Regions from separate parts of the Homo sapiens genome. Here all the other regions are linked to region 6. Evidence: promoter capture Hi-C in 16 types of primary human blood cells and fetal thymus (Javierre and others, 2016). All regions are on one chromosome and are shown on one strand. Each heading gives the region's core, a stretch centred on a gene start or on the middle of the fragment in contact. The rest is flanking DNA. Distances are from core to core; before and after follow the strand shown. Region 1 overlaps RASSF6 (Ras association domain family member 6). Region 2 has its middle 44 kb from the start of UMLILO. Region 3 overlaps RASSF6 (Ras association domain family member 6). Region 4 has its middle 55 kb from the start of RASSF6. Region 5 has its middle 24 kb from the start of UMLILO. Region 6 holds the start of PPBP (pro-platelet basic protein). Region 7 has its middle 23 kb from the start of RASSF6.

Evidence for each region. Contacts are between HindIII fragments. The CHiCAGO score rates a contact against its expected background, and 5 or more counts as called.
Region 1: a contact is called between a fragment that was not itself captured here and the fragment with the promoter of PPBP in region 6, in 2 of 17 cell types (endothelial precursors and M1 macrophages). The highest score is 5.7, in endothelial precursors.
Region 2: a contact is called between a fragment that was not itself captured here and the fragment with the promoter of PPBP in region 6, in 4 of 17 cell types (neutrophils, megakaryocytes, monocytes and 1 more). The highest score is 10.9, in neutrophils.
Region 3: a fragment that was not itself captured here is called in contact with the fragment with the promoter of PPBP in region 6 in 1 of 17 cell types (neutrophils); the score reaches 7.4 in neutrophils.
Region 4: a fragment that was not itself captured here is called in contact with the fragment with the promoter of PPBP in region 6 in 1 of 17 cell types (neutrophils); the score reaches 6.1 in neutrophils.
Region 5: a fragment that was not itself captured here is called in contact with the fragment with the promoter of PPBP in region 6 in 4 of 17 cell types (monocytes, M1 macrophages, neutrophils and 1 more); the score reaches 5.9 in monocytes.
Region 7: a fragment that was not itself captured here is called in contact with the fragment with the promoter of PPBP in region 6 in 2 of 17 cell types (neutrophils and monocytes); the score reaches 7.9 in neutrophils.

Annotation. Positions count from the first base shown.
Region 1 is chr4:73,580,085-73,582,784 of GRCh38, reverse strand. It overlaps RASSF6 (Ras association domain family member 6), which reads left to right. Exons shown (of 11, transcript NM_177532.5): 7 at 495-596; 8 at 917-968. Among named protein-coding and RNA genes, the nearest start is that of RASSF6, 39 kb to the left of the region's middle. The HindIII fragment of the contact is 765 bases long and covers 980-1,744 here.
Region 2 is chr4:73,665,437-73,668,136 of GRCh38, reverse strand. No RefSeq gene overlaps it. Among named protein-coding and RNA genes, the nearest start is that of UMLILO, 44 kb to the left of the region's middle. The HindIII fragment of the contact is 4,697 bases long and covers 1-2,700 here.
Region 3 is chr4:73,603,622-73,606,388 of GRCh38, reverse strand. The region is part of intron 2 of RASSF6 (Ras association domain family member 6); the gene reads left to right. Among named protein-coding and RNA genes, the nearest start is that of RASSF6, 15 kb to the left of the region's middle. The HindIII fragment of the contact is 9,023 bases long and covers 1-2,767 here.
Region 4 is chr4:73,564,100-73,566,799 of GRCh38, reverse strand. No RefSeq gene overlaps it. Among named protein-coding and RNA genes, the nearest start is that of RASSF6, 55 kb to the left of the region's middle. The HindIII fragment of the contact is 8,717 bases long and covers 1-2,700 here.
Region 5 is chr4:73,684,871-73,687,644 of GRCh38, reverse strand. No RefSeq gene overlaps it. Among named protein-coding and RNA genes, the nearest start is that of UMLILO, 24 kb to the left of the region's middle. The HindIII fragment of the contact is 2,192 bases long and covers 157-2,348 here.
Region 6 is chr4:73,986,759-73,989,458 of GRCh38, reverse strand. PPBP (pro-platelet basic protein) reads left to right here and starts at 1,269. Exons shown (of 3, transcript NM_002704.3): 1 at 1,269-1,503; 2 at 1,807-1,942; 3 at 2,085-2,700. The coding sequence starts at 1,356. The coding sequence ends at 2,187. The HindIII fragment of the contact is 3,234 bases long and covers 1-2,700 here.
Region 7 is chr4:73,642,097-73,644,796 of GRCh38, reverse strand. No RefSeq gene overlaps it. Among named protein-coding and RNA genes, the nearest start is that of RASSF6, 23 kb to the right of the region's middle. The HindIII fragment of the contact is 5,364 bases long and covers 1-2,700 here.

The DNA of each region.
Region 1 (2,700 bases), core at 113-2,612, 410 kb after region 6:
GATCTCTCAATATAGGACTTATCTTTTTAACAGTCCAATGAGCCACCCCAAAACCCACCCATCTCTACATCTGCTGAACCCACCCCATTTCTACAGAGCCTTGGAATACTTGGAGATTGTGCATATAAATAAAATATGTGGAAATAAATCCTTACTTAATATCTCTATCCGTTTTTAAATATGCATCTGGTGACATTCTTTCTTACTTATTTTGAAATCTTAAACTGCACTAAAGAGGGGTGTAATTGTCCAGTGAAAATGTTATAAGCATCCTCAAATGGTGTTTTACCTAATTTACTCTAGAAACAATATAAAGCTGCTTAAAAGAACACATAATATTCAAAAACAACAAAGAAAAACAAACAAAAACAAAACAAATTTTTTAAATTAATGACCTTGGATTTTTTTTGCCCTATAAGAAGATTATGTTCAAGATATTGAATACCCTTAATATAATATAATTTTAAAGACTTATGTGACAATTCTTTTTCTAGACATCAATTTTCATTCCAGCCTTTGAATCAGAAACTAAGGTCAGAGTAAACAGTAACATGAGAACTGAAGAAGTAATAAAGCAACTTCTCCAAAAATTTAAGGTAACCTTTATCACTTAACTGAGCTATAAATATATTATATATAATTCAACTATAAACACACAAATCCACTCTTCTGAAACAGATCTATAAAGGTGTAAATCTAAATTGGATGTTGAGCACTGAAAGATTCTTTCCTTTGTATAACACCTTTTAGTAACTATCCCTTGAAAAATTATATAATTCCCATAAGAGCAGAGAAGATTTTATGTCTAAAAGTGAAAAATGGAAGAGAGAAAACAGACATGATTTGGGTCTGGTCAGGTTAGAAAACATCATATAACAACAAAGAATTTATATTTGTTCATTTTTTCCCTTGACAGATTGAAAATAGTCCCCAGGATTTTGCTCTTCACATTATTTTTGCAACAGGAGGTAAGAAAGCTTGATCACACTTTTTACCTGACTCTAGAGTGCTACAGTTTGCTGCCCAGGGGGAAGGCAGAAGAACAGTTTGCCTCATTCTGTGGAGAAAGGGGAGGAATGGGTAGGAGAAAAGGAAGGAGTGGTCTTTAGAACATTATCTATAGTCCACAATTTTAAAGAAAGATAACTTAAGAATAAGGTATCCCTGAAGGGTTGATTATATGAAAGAGTTTGCTTGTTGGCCAGACATTAAATTATCTAAATGGAGATCAAAACCCTCTGGAACTGTTTCGGCACTTTTGTCTTTGCTCACCTCTGTAACTTTCTTTTTGGCTTTCCTTTCTGAGTGTTGCTCTTAGAGGAGTCATGATTGCATACCTGTTCTCTCTGACATTGATATTGCCTCTTTTTTAGCACAGGGTCTGACACATTGCGGGAGTGCTATCTCTTCCTCAGTAGAGATGCATATTCAGAACTTCGTGGTGAGGGGTGAAAGGTTAGAAGCAGAACATTGGGAAGGCGCTGTAAGTGGGATGCTAGGAGCATAATAGAGAGAATAGAGAAAACTTAAAGTGATACTGAAATGAAAGTTTTTAAAACTTCACAAATGAAAAATTTTATATATCAATTTGTAGAAAAAACTCATGCTATAATTTAAGTGTCAGAATGTTCAAGCCAGAAATTTATTAGAATAAAATAATACATTTTGATGCCAGAACACCTTAAGAAAATGAAAGCTGTATCTCTAAACATATATAAAATTAAAGTTCTTATAATTGAAAGCTTAAAGATCTATAATTAAAGACTTAAACGTTAGACCTAAAACCATAAAAACCCTAGAAGAAAACCTAGGCATTACCATTCAGGACATAGGCATGGGCAAGGACTTCATGTCTAAAACACCAAAAGCAATGGCAACAAAAGCCAAAATTGACAAATGGGATCTCATTAAACTAAAGAGCTTCTGCACAGCAAAAGAAACTACCATCAGAGTGAACAGGCAACCTACAAAATGGGAGGAAATTTTCGCAACCTACTCATCTGACAAAGAGCTAATATCCAGAATCTACAATGAACTCAAACAAATTTACAAGAAAAAAACAAACAACCCCATCAAAAAGTGGGCAAAGGACATGAATAGACACTTCTCAAAAGAAGACATTTATGCAGCCAAAAAACACATGAAAAAATGCTCACCATCACTGGCCATCAGAGAAATGCAAATCAAAACCACAATGAGATACCATCTCACACCAGTTAGAATGGCAATCATTAAAAAGTCAGGAAACAACAGGTACTGGAGAGGATGTGGAGAAATAGGAACACTTTTACACTGTTTGTGGGACTGTAAACTAGTTCAACCATTGTGGAAGTCAGTGTGGCGATTCCTCAGGGATCTAGAACTAGAAATACCATTTGACCCAGCCATCCCATTACTGGGTATATACCCAAAGGACTATAAATCATGCTGCTATAAAGACACATGCACACGTATGTTTATTGCGGCATTATTCACAATAGCAAAGACTTGGAAGCAACCCAAATGTCCAACAATGATAGACTGGATTAAGAAAATGTGGCACATATACACCATGGAATACTATGCATCCATAAAAAATGATGAGTTCATGTCCTTTGTAGGGACATGGATGAAATTGGAAATCATCATTCTTAGTAAACTATCGCAAGAACAAAAAACCAAACACCGCATATTCTCACTCATAGGTGGGAATTGAACAAT
Region 2 (2,700 bases), core at 154-2,653, 320 kb after region 6:
TCAGTAGAAGTTTACACTAATAATAGTGCATTCATGCCGGTCCCTAATGATGATAGGTTTCCAGCTCAACCGGAAGAAGAAGGTATGCACTTTAATCTGTCATTTGGCTATAAATACCCACCACTGTGTATCACCTGGCTGTTTAGCTTATTCTTACCAGAATTGGATGTGGACCGTACCATCCTTAACAAATGATTCTTATCAAGTACATAATGTGTTCAGTAGCAATTCTTTTCAACTTCTCACTGTTAAACTTAAGCCTCTTGAGGAATTGAGGGCTCCTGTCACTACTAACAGCAATAAAACAAAAGGACTGCCAGACTGCCCAAAGAAACCTACAAAGGGAACTTTTCTACTGAATTCAATTTTATGGAATGATTGTAATGCTCCCAAGGCCATTGTGCTGCAAAGTCTAGCCATGGGAACTGTTATTGATTGGGCTCCAAAAGAGCATTATTCGCAGGATTGCTCCAGCAAAAATACCTCATGCTCGGAGTATAATTATTTGTTAGATTATATAAAGGATGGATGGCAGTCATACAGGTTGAGACAATAGGTGTCTCCTTACCCATTTAAATGGATGGACGCAGGCATTGTTCCTCCTAGACCAAAAATGATTCATCCCATTGTTACCCCAGAACATCCTGAATTATGGAAATTAGCTGCAGCTATAACAGGAATAAGGATATGGAACACTACTTATCAACTCCTTCACACTAATACCAAAACACCCACATTCAACATCACCTTGATATCTAAACAGGTAATACCCATCAGGAGTTGTGTCAAAACCACTCACCTGCTGTTAGTTAGAAATATAATTATCATTCCCAGTACACAAACTATAGAATGTGATAATTGTAAGCTGTTCACGTGCATTGATGCTACTTTTAATCCCACAACAAGTATTCTCTTGGTAAGTGCTAGGGAGGGGGTATGGATACCAGTTTCTTTACATCATCCGTGGGAGTCTTCCCCCTCTATATACATAGTCAATGAAGTTCTTAAAGGTATCCTCAAAAGAACAAAGAGATTTATTTTTACTCTTATTGCAGTCATTGCAGGTCTAATTGCGGTTACTGCAACAGTGGCAACTGCTGGAGTTATGATTCACAATTCCGTTCAAACCACTCAATGTGTTGAAGCATGGCAAAAAAACTCCTCCAGACTTTGGAATTCTAAGGCTCAAATTGATCAAAAATTAGCTAATCAAATTAATGATCTCTGCCAACGTGTGATATGATTGGGAAATAGAGTTATGAATTTGGAACACCGTATGCAATTACAGTGTGATTGGAATACTTCTGATTACTGCATAATGCCTTATGCTTATAATAAAGATCAGCATAGCTGGGAAAAGTTCTCAAGACATTTAAAAGCCTGGGATGATAACTTAACCTTGGATATTTCAAAACTTAAAGAACAAATTTTTGAGGCTTCACAGGCTCATTTATCCACTGTTCCTGGCTCAGACATTTTTGAAGGAATAACTAAAGAATTATCTGATCTTAATCCCTTTAAATGGATCAAACCCCTTGGAGAATCATTGTTGTCACTGGCATTATTAATACTGGTATGCTTATGTTGTCTCTTTTAGTCTGCAGATGCCTCCAAGGAGTCCGGAAACAAGTCCAAAGTCAACGACAAGCAATGATGGTGATGGCGATCCTAGTTAATAAAAAGGGGGCAGATGTGGGTGGCAAGCCAATCAGGTGCCAAGGCAAGAGACCGAGGGCACGAGCTGTTCCAATATAATAAAATATATAAAACAACAAGAGTTATACTAGATCTAGATCATAGACATGATTATACATGAATATCATTAATCATTAGTTTGTAGCAATTACGCTTTATTCCAATATTATAATAATCCTCGCTCTACAATCATAACCTAGGAAAAGCCAGGCCATACAGAGATAGGAGCTGAGGAGACATGGTGAGAAGTGACCAGAAGACAAGAGTGTGAGCCCTCTGTCAAGTCCAGACAGGGCCACTAGAGGGCTCCTTGGTCTAGCGGTAACGCCAGCATCTGGGAAGACGCCTGTTGCCAAGTGGACCATGGTCTAGTGGTAGCGTCAGTGCCAAGGAAAAACACCCGCTACTTAGCAGACCAGGAAAGGGAGTCTCCCTTTCCCTGGGGGAGTTTAGAGAAGACTCTACTTCTCCACCTCTTGAGGAGGGCCTGACATCAGTCAGGCCCACCCACAGTTATCCGGAGGCCTGTCTCCCTGTGATGCTGTGCTTCAGTGGTCATGCTCCTAGTCTGCTGTCATGTTCCATCCTGTGCACCTGGCTCTGCCTTTTAGATAGCAGTAGCAAAATTGGTTAAAGTACTAAAAGTCTCTGATATGCAGAAATAATGGTGTAAGCTGTCTCCTCTCTCCGCCTCAGCTGCCAAACAGGGAAGGGCCCCCTGTCCAGTGGACACGTGACCCACGTGACCTTACCTATCATTGGAGATGGCTCACACTCCTTACCCTACCCCTATGTCTTGTATCCAATAAATATCAGCACAGCCTGGCATTTGGGGCCACTACCGGTCTCCATGTCTTGGTGGTAGTGGTGCCCTGGGCCCAGCTGCCTTTTCTTTTATCTCTTTGTCTTGTGTCTTTATTTCTACAATCTCTCATCTCCACACATGGGGAGAAAAACCCACCGACCCTGTGGGGCTGGTCCCTACAATTCTCTTGGTCTTCTGTT
Region 3 (2,767 bases), core at 268-2,767, 380 kb after region 6:
CCATCTTTGTGTCCATGTGTACCCGGTGTTAAACTCTCACTTATAAGTGAGAATATACAATATTTGATTTTCTGTTTCTCTATTAGTTCACTTAGGATAATAGCCTCCGGCTGCATCCATATTGCTGCAAAGGACATGATTTTGCTCTTTTTTATGGCTACAGAGTATTCCATGGTGTCTATGTACCACATTGTTTTTATCCAATCCAGCACAGATGGGCACCTGGGTGGATTCCATGTCTTTGCTATTGTGAATAGTGTTGTGATAAACACAGGGGTGTGTATGTCTTTTTGGTAGAATGTTTTATTTTCCTTTGGGTCTATATCCAGTAAAGGGATTGTTGGGTTGAAAGGTAGTTCAACTTTTAGATTTTTGAAAAATCTCCAAACTGCTTTCCACAGTGACTAGACTAATTTACATTCCCACCAACAGTGTATAAGTGACCAAAAGACATGGGCAGACACTTCTCAAAAGAAGACATACAAGCAGCCAACAAACATGAAAAAATGCTCATCATCACTAATCAGAGAAATGCAAGTCAAAACCACAGTGAGACACCATCTCACACCAGACAGAATGGCTTTTATAAAAAAGTCAAAAAATAACATATGTTGGCGAGGCTGCAGAAAAAAGGGAAAAATCCTCAGGTATTTGAAGTTGGAAGAGTGAGACAGAATTCAGAGCTTTCTGATCATTCAGGGTTTGCATTTTTGCTTCAATCGAGATAGACTACTTCTCCACAAATTTCTCAGTTTCCAGACTTTGGAACTCAGTCCCTTCATTTGCAAAGGAAATGCGAATAACCTACTTTCCTAGCTGAGGAGGGTCTCTATGCAAAGATTGAAAAGCATTCTTTCTTCATCATTTGAACCAGATGAGGCCAAAAGCGAAAAGACCTGGAGCCATGGCTGTTTATGAAAGAGGAGCCAAAACTTGTAATTTTAATTCCAGGATTCAAATGGACAGGAATAAAGGATAAAATGGGTTTGGAGAATTCTGCTTCTATTACAGACATCATTAATATGGAATGATGATTTATCTTGGCAAATAGCTTGATGACAAGGCTTTATTCAGTTCTCTTCTGCGTCCTCATATTTCCTGATTCCATCTTTCCAAAAACATACAAGAGTGTATATTACATTTTTATGAACCTAAAAAATATCATGAAAGTATCACACGTTTCTTATATAGAATTTATAGGCCGGGCATGGTGGCTCACACCTGTAATCCCAGCACTTTGGGAGGCTGAGGCAGGTGGATCATCTGAGGTCAGGAGTTTGAGACCAGCCTGGCCAACATGGTGAAACCCCATCTCTACTGAAAATACGAAAATTAGCCTGGCCTGGTGGCAGCTGCCTATAATCCCAGCTACTCGGGAGGCTGAGGCAAGAGAATCACTTGAACCCAGGAGGTGGAGGTTGCAATGAGATGAGATCACACCATTGCACTCCAGCCTGGGCAATAAGAGCGAAACTCCATCTCAAAAAACAAAAAAAAAAAAAAAGAAAGAAAATGATTTATAAGGTATATAGAATTATAACATAGGAAATAAAAATCACAACCTTAATTCCCAGCAAATAATTTGTTACCTTTACATATTTAATGTAATGTTTAATATGTTTAACTTTAATATTTTGTAGTTATTTTATAAAACTATAAAGTTCTAAATTCAGCTTTTTGAACCTGACATATGAAATTGTTAAATAGCTTCACTGCTAAAATTTAATATCGTGAACAAAATCAGTGGGAAAAAGAAAACCTGTGCAAGAGAACTAATTAGCACTATCCTTTTCTTCCTCAGTTTTTCACCTGCTGAAGTCTGTTTCAAATATTCTTGGTTCCTGCTCTTAAACATGGCAACACACACAGTGGAATGGTTGTTTTGCTTTGTTTTGTTTTGTTTTGTTTTGTTTTTTTGAGACAGAGTCTCACTGTCGCTCAGGCTGGAGTGCAGTGGTGTGATCTCCACTCACTGCAACCTCCACCTCCCGGGTTCACGCCATTCTTCTGCCTAGACTCACGAGTAGCTGGGACTACAGGCGCCGGCCACCACACCTGGCTATTTTTTTCTATTTTTTAGTAGAGATGGGGTTTCACCATGTTAGCCAGGATGGTCTCCATCTCCTGACCTCGTGATCCGCCCACCTCGGCCTCCCAAAGTGCTGGGATGAAATGTTGTTCTTAATGTTGTTGTCACTAAGCAGCTCAGTGGCTGCTTAATTGGAACCATGAACATTTTTCAGCAAGTCTCCAAGAAGCAGAAGTAATACAAACTCAGGAAGCACAGCCAGGGGATAAACATGCCTTTGGCAACCTCGTTGAGTGTATTTTCCCCTGAGGTTCATTTGTATCACACGGAAGTCTTTCAAGTTTGTGTAGGGTGACGGCATATGACAATATTTATGCTTTGTCCTTAGTGGGTTCAAACTGTAAGAATCACTTTGTAAAGACTAGGACAGGGTTCTTTGCCTTTTAGGGAAGGACTAGGATGGCCACTTAATTATGCTGTAAGTCATTATTAAAACAAGAGGAAAAAAATCTCTTAGTACAACTAATATTTGACATCCACTCTATCTATGGATATCAGACATAATTCACTTCCACCCATAATCCTATCCCACATTCATGTATATTACAGTTTTATAAAATTAAATAAAAAGTTTCTTCCAGCCAGCCAAATACCTGATAAGATTGAGGAACTCATTTCATGCTAAGTACATTATTCATGGCAAACGTCAGAATGCGGGTAATTCCCATAGGCTGAGCA
Region 4 (2,700 bases), core at 142-2,641, 420 kb after region 6:
GAAAATCTAATTGTTGTTGTCCTTAAAGAGGATTAAGAGAACGAGATGGGGTAGAAAATTTATTCAACAGGGTAATAATAGAGAAATTCCCAAACCTAGAGAAAGATATCAATATCCATGTACAAGAAGGTTATAGAACACCAGGCAGATTTAACCCAAAGAAGACTACCTCAAAAGATTTAATAATCGAACTCCCAAAGGTCAAGGATAACGAAAGGATTCTAAAAGCAGCAAGATAAAAGAAACAAATAACATGCAATGAAGCTCTATCTGGCAGCAGATTTTTCAGTGGAAATCCTACAGGCCAGGAGTGAGTGGCATTACATATTTAAAATGCTGAAGGAAAATACTGTTACCCTAGAATAGTATATCTAGTAATAATATCCTTCAAACATCAAGAAAAATTAAACACTTTCCCAAACAGACAAAAGCTGAGAGATTTTATTAGCGTCACAACTCTCCTACAAGAAATGCTAAAGGGAGTTCTACAACCAGAAAACAAAGGATATTAATCAACATTAAAAATCTTCTGAAGGTACAAAACTCACTGGTGATAGTATGTACATAGAAAAAGATAGAATATCATAACACTATTATTGTGGTATGTAAACTACTCTTAACTAGAGAGACTAAAAGATGAACCAATCAAAAATAATAACTACAATAAATTTTCAAGACATAGTACAATAAGACATAAAGGAAAACAACAAAAAGTTTAAAAGTGAGGGAATACAATTAAAGTATAGAGATTTTATTAGTTTTCTTTTTGTTTGCTTATGCAATCAGTAGTTAAGTTGTCATAAGTTTAAAATAATAGGTTAAAAGATACAGTTTGCAAGCAACATGGAATCTCAAATCAAAAATCATACAATGGATACATGAAAAAATAAAAAACAAGAAATTTAATCATACTACCAGAGAAAATCATCTTCACTAAAAAAAAGACAGGATGCAGGATGGAAGAAAAGGAAGAAGAGAACACCGCAAAAGGGCTGGAAAACAAACAACGAAATGACAAGGGTTAAGTCCTTACTTATCAAAAAAAAAAAAAACGTTGAATGTAAATGGACTAAACTCTCCAATCAAAAGACATAGTGTGGCTGAACGCATGTAAAAAAAAAAAAAAAAAAAAAACAAGATGCAATGATCTGAATGATCTGTTCCCTACAAAAAACACACTTCACCTGTAAAGGCACATTTACATTCAAAATAAAGGGATGGAAAATATATTCCATGCCAATGAAAAGCATAAAAGAGCTGGCATAGCTAGTTGGCATAGCTAGAATACACCTCCTGCTCAGCATATAATCATCCTCAAGACAGACCATGTGTTAGGTCACAAAACAAGTCTGAAAATATGCAAAAAATTGAAATAATATCAAGCAACTTCTCTGATAACAATAGAATAAAACTAGAAATCAATAACAGAGTAATTTTGAAAACTGTACAAGCACATGGAAATTAACATATTCCTGAATGACCAGTGGGTCAATGAAGAAATTAAGAAGGAAGCTGAAAAATTTCTTGAAACAAGTGATAATGGAAATGCGACATACAAAAACCTGTGGGAAGGCAGTGAAAGCAGGACTAAGAGTGATATTTATAGATATAAGCACCTACATCAAAAAAAGAAAAAAAATTTCCAATAAATAACCTAACAATGCATTTTAAGAATTAAAAAAACAGGAGCAACCAAACCCAAAATTAGGAAAGAAAAGAAATAATAAAAATTAGAGGAGAAATAAATAAAATTAAAACTAAGAAAACAATACAAAAGATGAATTAAACAAAGTTTGTGTTTTTAAAAGATAGATAAAATTGACAAACCTTTACCCAGACTAATTAATAAAAAGAGAGAGATGACCAAAATAAATAAAATCAGAGATGAAAAAGGAGACATTAAAACCAATACCACAGAAATTCAAAGGGTCATAGATGGCTACTTGGAGAAACTATATCCTAGTAACTTGGAAAATCTAGAAGAAATGGATAAATTCCCAGATATATACAATCTACCAAAGTTGAACCATAAAGAAATCCAAAACCTGAGCAAACCAATAGCAAGTAGTAAGACCAAAGCTGTAATAAAAGTCTTGCAGCAAAGAAAAGCCTGGGACCCAATGGCTGTGCTGTGAAATTTCCCAAACATTTAAATAACTAACACCAATCCTACTCAAACTATTCTGAAAAATAAAGGAGGAGGGCATACTTTGAAACTCATTCTATGGGGCCATTATTACCCTGATACCAAAACCAGACAAGATATTAAAAAAAAAAAAACCCACAACACTACAGGCCAATATCCCTGATGAATATTGATATAAAGATCCTCAACAAAATACTAGCAAATGAAATTCATCAACACATTAAAGAGATCACTTATCATGACCAAGTGGGATTTATTACAGAGATGCAAGGATGATTCAACATATGCAAATCAATCAATGTGATACTTCATATCAACAGAATGAAGAACAAAAACCAAAGATCTTTTCAATTGATACTGAAAGAGCATTTGATAAAATTCAACATCCCTTCATGATAAAAACCCTCCAAAAACTGGATGTAGAAGGAACTTACCTCAACATAATAAAAAGCCATATATGACAGATCCACAGCTAGGATCATACTGAATGGAGAAAAACTTAAAGCCTTTCCCCTAAGATGTGGAACGAAACAAGGATGCTCATTTTACCACTG
Region 5 (2,774 bases), core at 3-2,502, 300 kb after region 6:
ATTTGTTTATTTATTTTGTGGCAATTGTGAATGGAATTGCATTCCTGATCTGGCTCTCAGTTTGGCTGTCATTAGTGTATAAGAATGCCAGAGATTTTTGTATGCTGATTTTGTATCCTAAAACTTTGCTGAAGTTGTTTATCAGCTGAAGAAGCTTTGGGCCAAGACTACAGGGCTTTCTATATATGGAACCATGTCATCTGCAAATAGGGACAGTTTGACTTTCTTTATTCCTATTTGGATGCCTTTATTTCTTTCTCTTGCCTGATTGTTCTGGCCTGGACTTCCAATACTATGTTGAATAGGAGTGGTGAGAGAAGACATCCTTGTCTTGTATCAGTTTTCAAGGGGAATGTTTCCAACTTTTCCGCATTCAGTATGATGTTAGCTGTGGGTTTGCCATAGATGACTTATTATTTTGATGTTTGTCCCTTCAATACCTAGTTTACTGAGAGTTCTTAACATAAAAAGACATTGAATTTTATCAAAAGCCTTTTCTGCATCTATTGAGGTAATCATGTGGTTTTTGTCTTTAGTTATACTTATGCGATGGATTACATTTATTTATTTGTGTATGTTGAACCAATCTTGCATTCCAGGGAAAAAGCCTACTTGATCATTGTGGATTAACTTTTTGATGCACTGCTGGATTTGGTTTGCAAGTAGTTTGTTAAGGATTTTTGCATTAATATTCATCAAGAATATTGGCCTGAAGTTTTCTGTTTTTGTTGTGTCTCTGCCAGGTTTTGGTATCAGAATGATGCCGGCCTCATTGAATGAGTTGGGAGGAGTCCCTCCTTCTCAATTTTTAAAATTAGTTTCAGTAGAAATGACACCAGATCTTCTTTGTACATATGGTAAAATTTAGCTCTAAATCCATCTGATCCTGGGCTTTTTGGGGGGTTGGTAGGGTATTTATTATTTGTTCAATTTCAGATCTCATTTTTGGTGTGTTCAGGTAATCAAATTCTTCCTGGTTTAGTTTTTGGAGGTTATATTGTCCAGGAATTTATCCATCTTTTTAAGGTTTTCTAGTTTGTGTGCTTAGAGGTGTTCATAGTAGTTTCTGATGGTTATTTTTATTTCTGTGTGGTGAGTGGTAACATTTCCTTTGTTGTTTCTAATTGTGTTTATTTCAATCTTCTCTTTTCTTCTTTATTAGTTTAGCTAGCAGCCTATCTATCTCATCAATTTTTTCAGAAAAACTACTCTGGGCTCACTGATCTTTTGAATGGTTTTCCATGTCTTTATTTCCTTCAGCTCAGCTTGGATTTTGGTTATCTCTAATCTTCTGCTAGCTTTGGGGTTGGTTTGCTCTTGCTTCTCTGATGCTTTCAGTTGTAATATTAGGTTGTTAATTTGAAATATTCCCTTTTGTTGTTGGTGTTTAGTGCTATACATTTCCCTGTTAACACTCTTTCAGCTGTATCCCAGAGATTCCACTATGTTGTATTTTTGTTCTCATTAGTTTCAAAAAAGTCTTGATTTTTGCCTTAATTTCATTATTTACTCAAAAGTCACTCAGAAGCAGGTTGTTTTATTTCCATGTAATTGTATGGTTTTGAGCAATTTTTAAAGTTTTGACTTCTATATTTATTGCACTGTGGTCCAAGAGTGTGTTTGTGTGATTTTGGTTCTTTTGCATTGCTGAGGATTGTTTTATGTCTGACTGCTAGTCAATTAATAGAGTGTGTGCCATATAGCAATGAGAAGAATGTATATTCTCTTGTTTTGGGGTGGAGAGTTCTGTAGAGGTCTGAAAATATAATTCTCTACGATCAGATTTATTTTAATGTTGAGTTCAGGTCCAAATATCTGTTAATTTTTCACCTCAATGATCTGTCTAATATTATCAGTGGACTGTTGAAGTCTCCCACCATTATCGTGTGGGATTCTAAATCTTTTTGTAGGTCTCTTAGAACTTGCTTTATGAATCTGGGTTATCCTGTGTTGGGCGTGTTATATTCAGATTTTTAAAATAGTGCCTGTTACCAGATTAAAGGTACACTGTACTCCTCTGTACTATCTTTGCTATTTCCTATGTGTTCCACAATAAAAAAATAAAAAAAATATAGTTACTGACATAAATATTATCTAGTAATTTAAGATAGCATTCCTCTGAAAATTAAAATTCAGTTGGCAACTGAGTACATAATAGAAAATACATCATTCATGATCTGTCTTCAGTGTTACTTTATGGTTTTAGAAAATACTTTAAATAAATCATTCAAGTTATACTTACTGAAATATAAATATCAGAGTGGTAAATGTCAACATATTAGAATAAATATTTTCTTTTCCTGGCTCCTAAATCTAAGTGAATCTAGAAGTTCATCGACTAAGAAGCTTTAATATGACAACTGGAATGGGAATATATCAAGTGTGATAACATCTCAAAGATAAATGAGGATTGCATAAGAAAGGAGATATGGGCCAATTATTGCTTACCTTTTTTGAAAAGTGCCTCATTTCAGTCCCCATAAAGATAGTCAGAGGAGGACATGGGAGAGGAAAGAGAACTGATATTCCTCTCAGGGGTACATGGCAGAGCCAAGGCTAGATTCTGCATGGCAGTCACCAACAATCATCTCATCTTTGAGCACATTCTCCTTCCTGCTTCTGTGTCCTCTCCTCTCTTCACTTACGTCTCCTTCATGTCCAGCTCGCCTCATCTGCCCATGCAATCAATCCATCAGTCACACAAATAGAAATTGTAACAGTGTATGATATAATCTATAAATGGAAGGTATCATTAGCAATAATGCTCCACTTAG
Region 6 (2,700 bases), core at 20-2,519:
ACAGAGAACCAGAAAATAACATAAAGCCAACATGTAATGTGTAGGTCCACCTCTCTATCTTTGTAGGGATATAGCATTTCAGACCAAAACCTTTAATTTGGGTCTGAGAATTCAGGAACAAATATTTTCCTTGGTAAGGACATTTCTTGCACAATTTCTAATAGTGCAAAATTGGAAACACCGTGAAGGGCACCAACAAGGCAAGGTTGAGTAACTATTGTTCTTATCACAGGACGTCACATGGTCATTAAGAAGAATGGGGGAAAACTACATTAAGATGACCTGAAAAGATAAGGAACACATATTTTTTGAAGGATAAAAGTCAGCTGTATAGTGATCCATATACAATACTTCTATGTATATGTGTACCTCTATGTCTTAAACGTGTCTCATTGTATACATATACATGTGTGCATATAAGTGCAGACAGAATTGAAAACTAATGCAAAATTGTTACCAGTGTTTACCACTGAATAGTAGGAATGTGGAGAAATGATGAAGAGAAATTTGTGTTTTATTTCAAAGACATCTGCAGCATACGAATCTTTTGCAATAAATTATATAATTTTTCTGTTAAATTAAAAATAAAAAGAAAAATAAATATGCTGGGTCCTACTTTTTAGGTATTCTTAGGTGGTAGAAACAAGTAGCTTCTTTTGTAATATAAAGGAGGATGAGTTTCATTTGTAGTTTCTAGATGAAATTACAAAAGATAATATAGATTGAAGGCAGAAAGAATCCAATAAGCTAAAATCCAAAGACAACCTTTGACGGTAATTGGCTCTTATTTTACTTACATGCTCCAAACCAATCCCAATATTTATCAACATTCATGAAAAGAACATTTGCTTTCTTTGGCAAGCAAAGATAACTTTCTCTTTCAAGGGCCACATGTTTGTGCCTTCAGGTGCTCCTAAAGTTTCTATTAAGCCTAAAAACTGCAGTATAGAAAAGGCAGGGCGTATTGTTATAAATCATACAAAGAAAATGCATGTAGTATTTCAGTCTAGTTCTTACCTTCCTGAACGGAGTTCTTACACAGGTGTAAGGAAGATAAGTATTGAGAAAGGGAGAGTGGGAATGTGAAGTGATGCACATTAAGCAAGTTAGTAGGAATTTGACCTGTCTGGTCTTTCTCTGGGTTGGGCACAGCTTCAAATGCTTATGTGTGTATCACCACATACCCTCACTTCCTCCTTTCCTACCTCTTCCTTCTTACTGGCTTTGAGAAAGAGCATATAAATGACATCTTCAGGGCATGAGAAGCCACTTATCTGCAGACTTGTAGGCAGCAACTCACCCTCACTCAGAGGTCTTCTGGTTCTGGAAACAACTCTAGCTCAGCCTTCTCCACCATGAGCCTCAGACTTGATACCACCCCTTCCTGTAACAGTGCGAGACCACTTCATGCCTTGCAGGTGCTGCTGCTTCTGTCATTGCTGCTGACTGCTCTGGCTTCCTCCACCAAAGGACAAACTAAGAGAAACTTGGCGAAAGGCAAAGGTAGAGGCCCTGCTTCTCTGCACTTGTTGCTGCTTCTGCTACACCTGTCTCTGGGGTAAAGACTAGCTTGGTGCCTTTGGGGCTGGAGAGGGCCATTATACCAATAACTCCAATTGGAGGAGACACACAGGGGGGTCACTTCTCACTTCTTGTGTGCTGGGCAATCTTCTGGGCACTTTACTAAAGCGTTACAGATCATATTCACAATGGCTTTATGAGAGAGGTACAATTGCCCTCAATCTGCAAATAAGAGACCTGAGGAAAATATTCATGACCACCAATAGGTCACATTTTCTACCCTAGAGGAAAGTCTAGACAGTGACTTGTATGCTGAACTCCGCTGCATGTGTATAAAGACAACCTCTGGAATTCATCCCAAAAACATCCAAAGTTTGGAAGTGATCGGGAAAGGAACCCATTGCAACCAAGTCGAAGTGATGTAAGTTGCTGTTTCTGTGCTATTGCCTTATCAGAGAAACCCTCTACCTCCATCCACATATGCACTCGTTTCCTCCAGTCTCATGGATTAGTTCTGATATTCAGATCAGGACACCCACAGATAACCCTGTTCTCTTTTGCAGAGCCACACTGAAGGATGGGAGGAAAATCTGCCTGGACCCAGATGCTCCCAGAATCAAGAAAATTGTACAGAAAAAATTGGCAGGTGATGAATCTGCTGATTAATTTGTTCTGTTTCTGCCAAACTTCTTTAACTCCCAGGAAGGGTAGAATTTTGAAACCTTGATTTTCTAGAGTTCTCATTTATTCAGGATACCTATTCTTACTGTATTAAAATTTGGATATGTGTTTCATTCTGTCTCAAAAATCACATTTTATTCTGAGAAGGTTGGTTAAAAGATGGCAGAAAGAAGATGAAAATAAATAAGCCTGGTTTCAACCCTCTAATTCTTGCCTAAACATTGGACTGTACTTTGCATTTTTTTCTTTAAAAATTTCTATTCTAACACAACTTGGTTGATTTTTCCTGGTCTACTTTATGGTTATTAGACATACTCATGGGTATTATTAGATTTCATAATGGTCAATGATAATAGGAATTACATGGAGCCCAACAGAGAATATTTGCTCAATACATTTTTGTTAATATATTTAGGAACTTAATGGAGTCTCTCAGTGTCTTAGTCCTAGGATGTCTTATTTAAAATACTCCCTGAAAGTTTATTCTGATGTTTATTT
Region 7 (2,700 bases), core at 178-2,677, 340 kb after region 6:
AAGAAAAGAAATTTTACTCTAGAATAGTATATCCAGTGAAAATATCCTTAAAACATGAAGGAGAAATAAAGACATTCCCAGACAAACACAAGCTGAGGGATTTCATCAACACCAGACCTGTCCTACAAGAAATGCTAAAGAGACTACTGCAATCAGAAAGAAAAAGATGTTAATTAGGAAGAAAAACATCACCCTAAGGTATAAAACTCACTGGCAATAGTAAGTATAGGGAAAAACTTAGACTATCATAACACTGTAACTGTGGCGTGTAAACCACTCTTAAGTAGAAAGACTAAAAGATGAACTAATAAAAAATAATAACTACAAAAACTTTTTAAGACAGAAACAGTACAAAGATCACTGAAACAATAAAATTTTTTAAATCAGGTGATGAAATTAAAGTGTAGAGTTTTTCTTAGTTTACTTCTTGCATCTTTGATAAATCGTTTACACAAGTACTATAAAGCTGTTATCAGCTTAAAATAATAGGAAATAAGATAGTATTTGCAAGCCTCATGGTAACCTTGAATCAAAAAAACATATAGCAGATACACAAAAAATAAAAAGCAAGAAATTAAATTATACCACTGGGAAAATTACCTTCAGTAAAAGGAAGACAGGAAGGAAAGAAAGAAAGAAGAAGAGACCGTAACACCATCAGAAAATGAACAAGAAAATTATAAGAGTAATACCTTACTTATCCGTAATAACATTGAATGTAAATAGACTAAACTCTCCAATCAAAAGACATAGAGTGGATGAATGGATAGAAAAGTACGACCCAATGATTTGTTGTCTGCAACAAACACAAACTATAAAGATACAAATAGACTGAAAACAAAAGGATGGAAAAAGATATTCCACATCAATGAAAACCAAAAAAGAGGAGTAGCTATACATACATATATATGTATAAATATATATGAAATATATATAGAGAGAGAAATCCACTTTTTTTTTGATTTGGGTCTTCTTTCTTTTTTTCTTAGTCTGTCTAATGATTCGTTAATTGTGTTTATTTATTCAAAAAAACAACTTTTTCTGCCATTAATTTTTTGTATTTTTTTCATTTAAAATTTATTTCCACTCTGATCTTTATTATTTCTCTTCTATTAGTTTATATATATATATATATTTGATGTTTATATATATATATATTTGATATATATATATGTTTCAAGACAAAAACTCTAAGAGCCAAAAATCACTATATAATGATAAAGGAGTCAATTCAGCAACGGGATATAACAATTGTAGATACATGTGCACCCACCACTGTAGCACCCAGATATAGGAAGCAAATATTAATAGAGCTAATGAGAGAGACCGATCACAATAAAATAATAGGTGGATACTTCAACGCTCTACTTTGAGCACTGGAATAATCTTCCAGACAGTAAATCAATAAAGAAACATCTGACTTAATCTGCACTATAAACCAAATAGACCTAATAGATATTTACAGAGCATTTCATCCAATGGCTACAGAATATACATTCTTTTCCTCAACACGTGGATTATACTCAACAATAGACCATATGTTAAGTCACAAAACAAGTCTTAAAACATTAAAAAATCTTGAAGTGATATTCATCATCTTCTCTGACAACAGTGGAAACAAACCCTAGAAACAAAAACAAATGAGCAATTTTGGGAACTGTACAAACACACAGAAATTAAATGATATGCTCCTGAATAACCAGTGGGTCAATGAAGAGATTAAGGAGGAAATTTAAAAATGTCTTGAAACAAATGACAATGGAAACACAATGTAACAAAACTAATGGGATACAGAAAAAGTAATACTAAGAGGGAAGTTTATAGCTATGAGTGCCTACAGCAAAAAACAAGAAAAACTTCAAATAAATAACCTAACAATACATCTTAAAGAACTACAAAAACAGGAGCAAATCAAACCCCAAACTAGCAGAACAGAAATAATAAAGATCAGAGTGGAAATAAATTTTAAATGAAAAAATACAAAAAATTAATGGAACAAAAAGTTGGGTTTTTGAATACATAAATGAAATTAACGAATCTTTAACCATACTAAGAAAAAAAGATGGAAGACCCAAATGAATAAAATAAGAGATTAAAAAAGGAGATATTACAACTGATGCTGCAGAAATTTAAAGAATCATTAGTGGCTATTATGAGCAACTACATGCCAATAAATTAGAAAAATCTTAAAAATAAATAAATAAATTTCTAGGTACATAAAATCTAACAAGTTTGAACAATGAAGAAATCCAAAACCTGAACAGACCAATAACAAACAATGAGATCAAAGCCATAATAAAGTTTCCCAGCAAAGAAAAGCCCAAAACTCAAAGGCCTCCCTGTTTAATTCCAACATTTAAAGAAATAATACCAATCCTACTTTAATTACTCTGAAAAGTTGAGCAGGAGGGAATACTTCCAAACTCATTCTATGAGGCCAGTATTACTCTGATACCAAAACCAAACACACACACACACACTCACACACACACACAGAGAGAGAGAGAGAGAAAACTACAGGCCAATATCTTTGTTGAATATTGATGCAGGATATCCTCAACAAAATACTAGCAAACTGAATTCAACAATGCATTTAAAAGATCATTCATGATGGCCAAGTGGGTTTTTTCCAGAGATACAATGATAGTTTAACATACACAAATCAATCGAAATGATACATCATGTCAACAGAATGAAAGA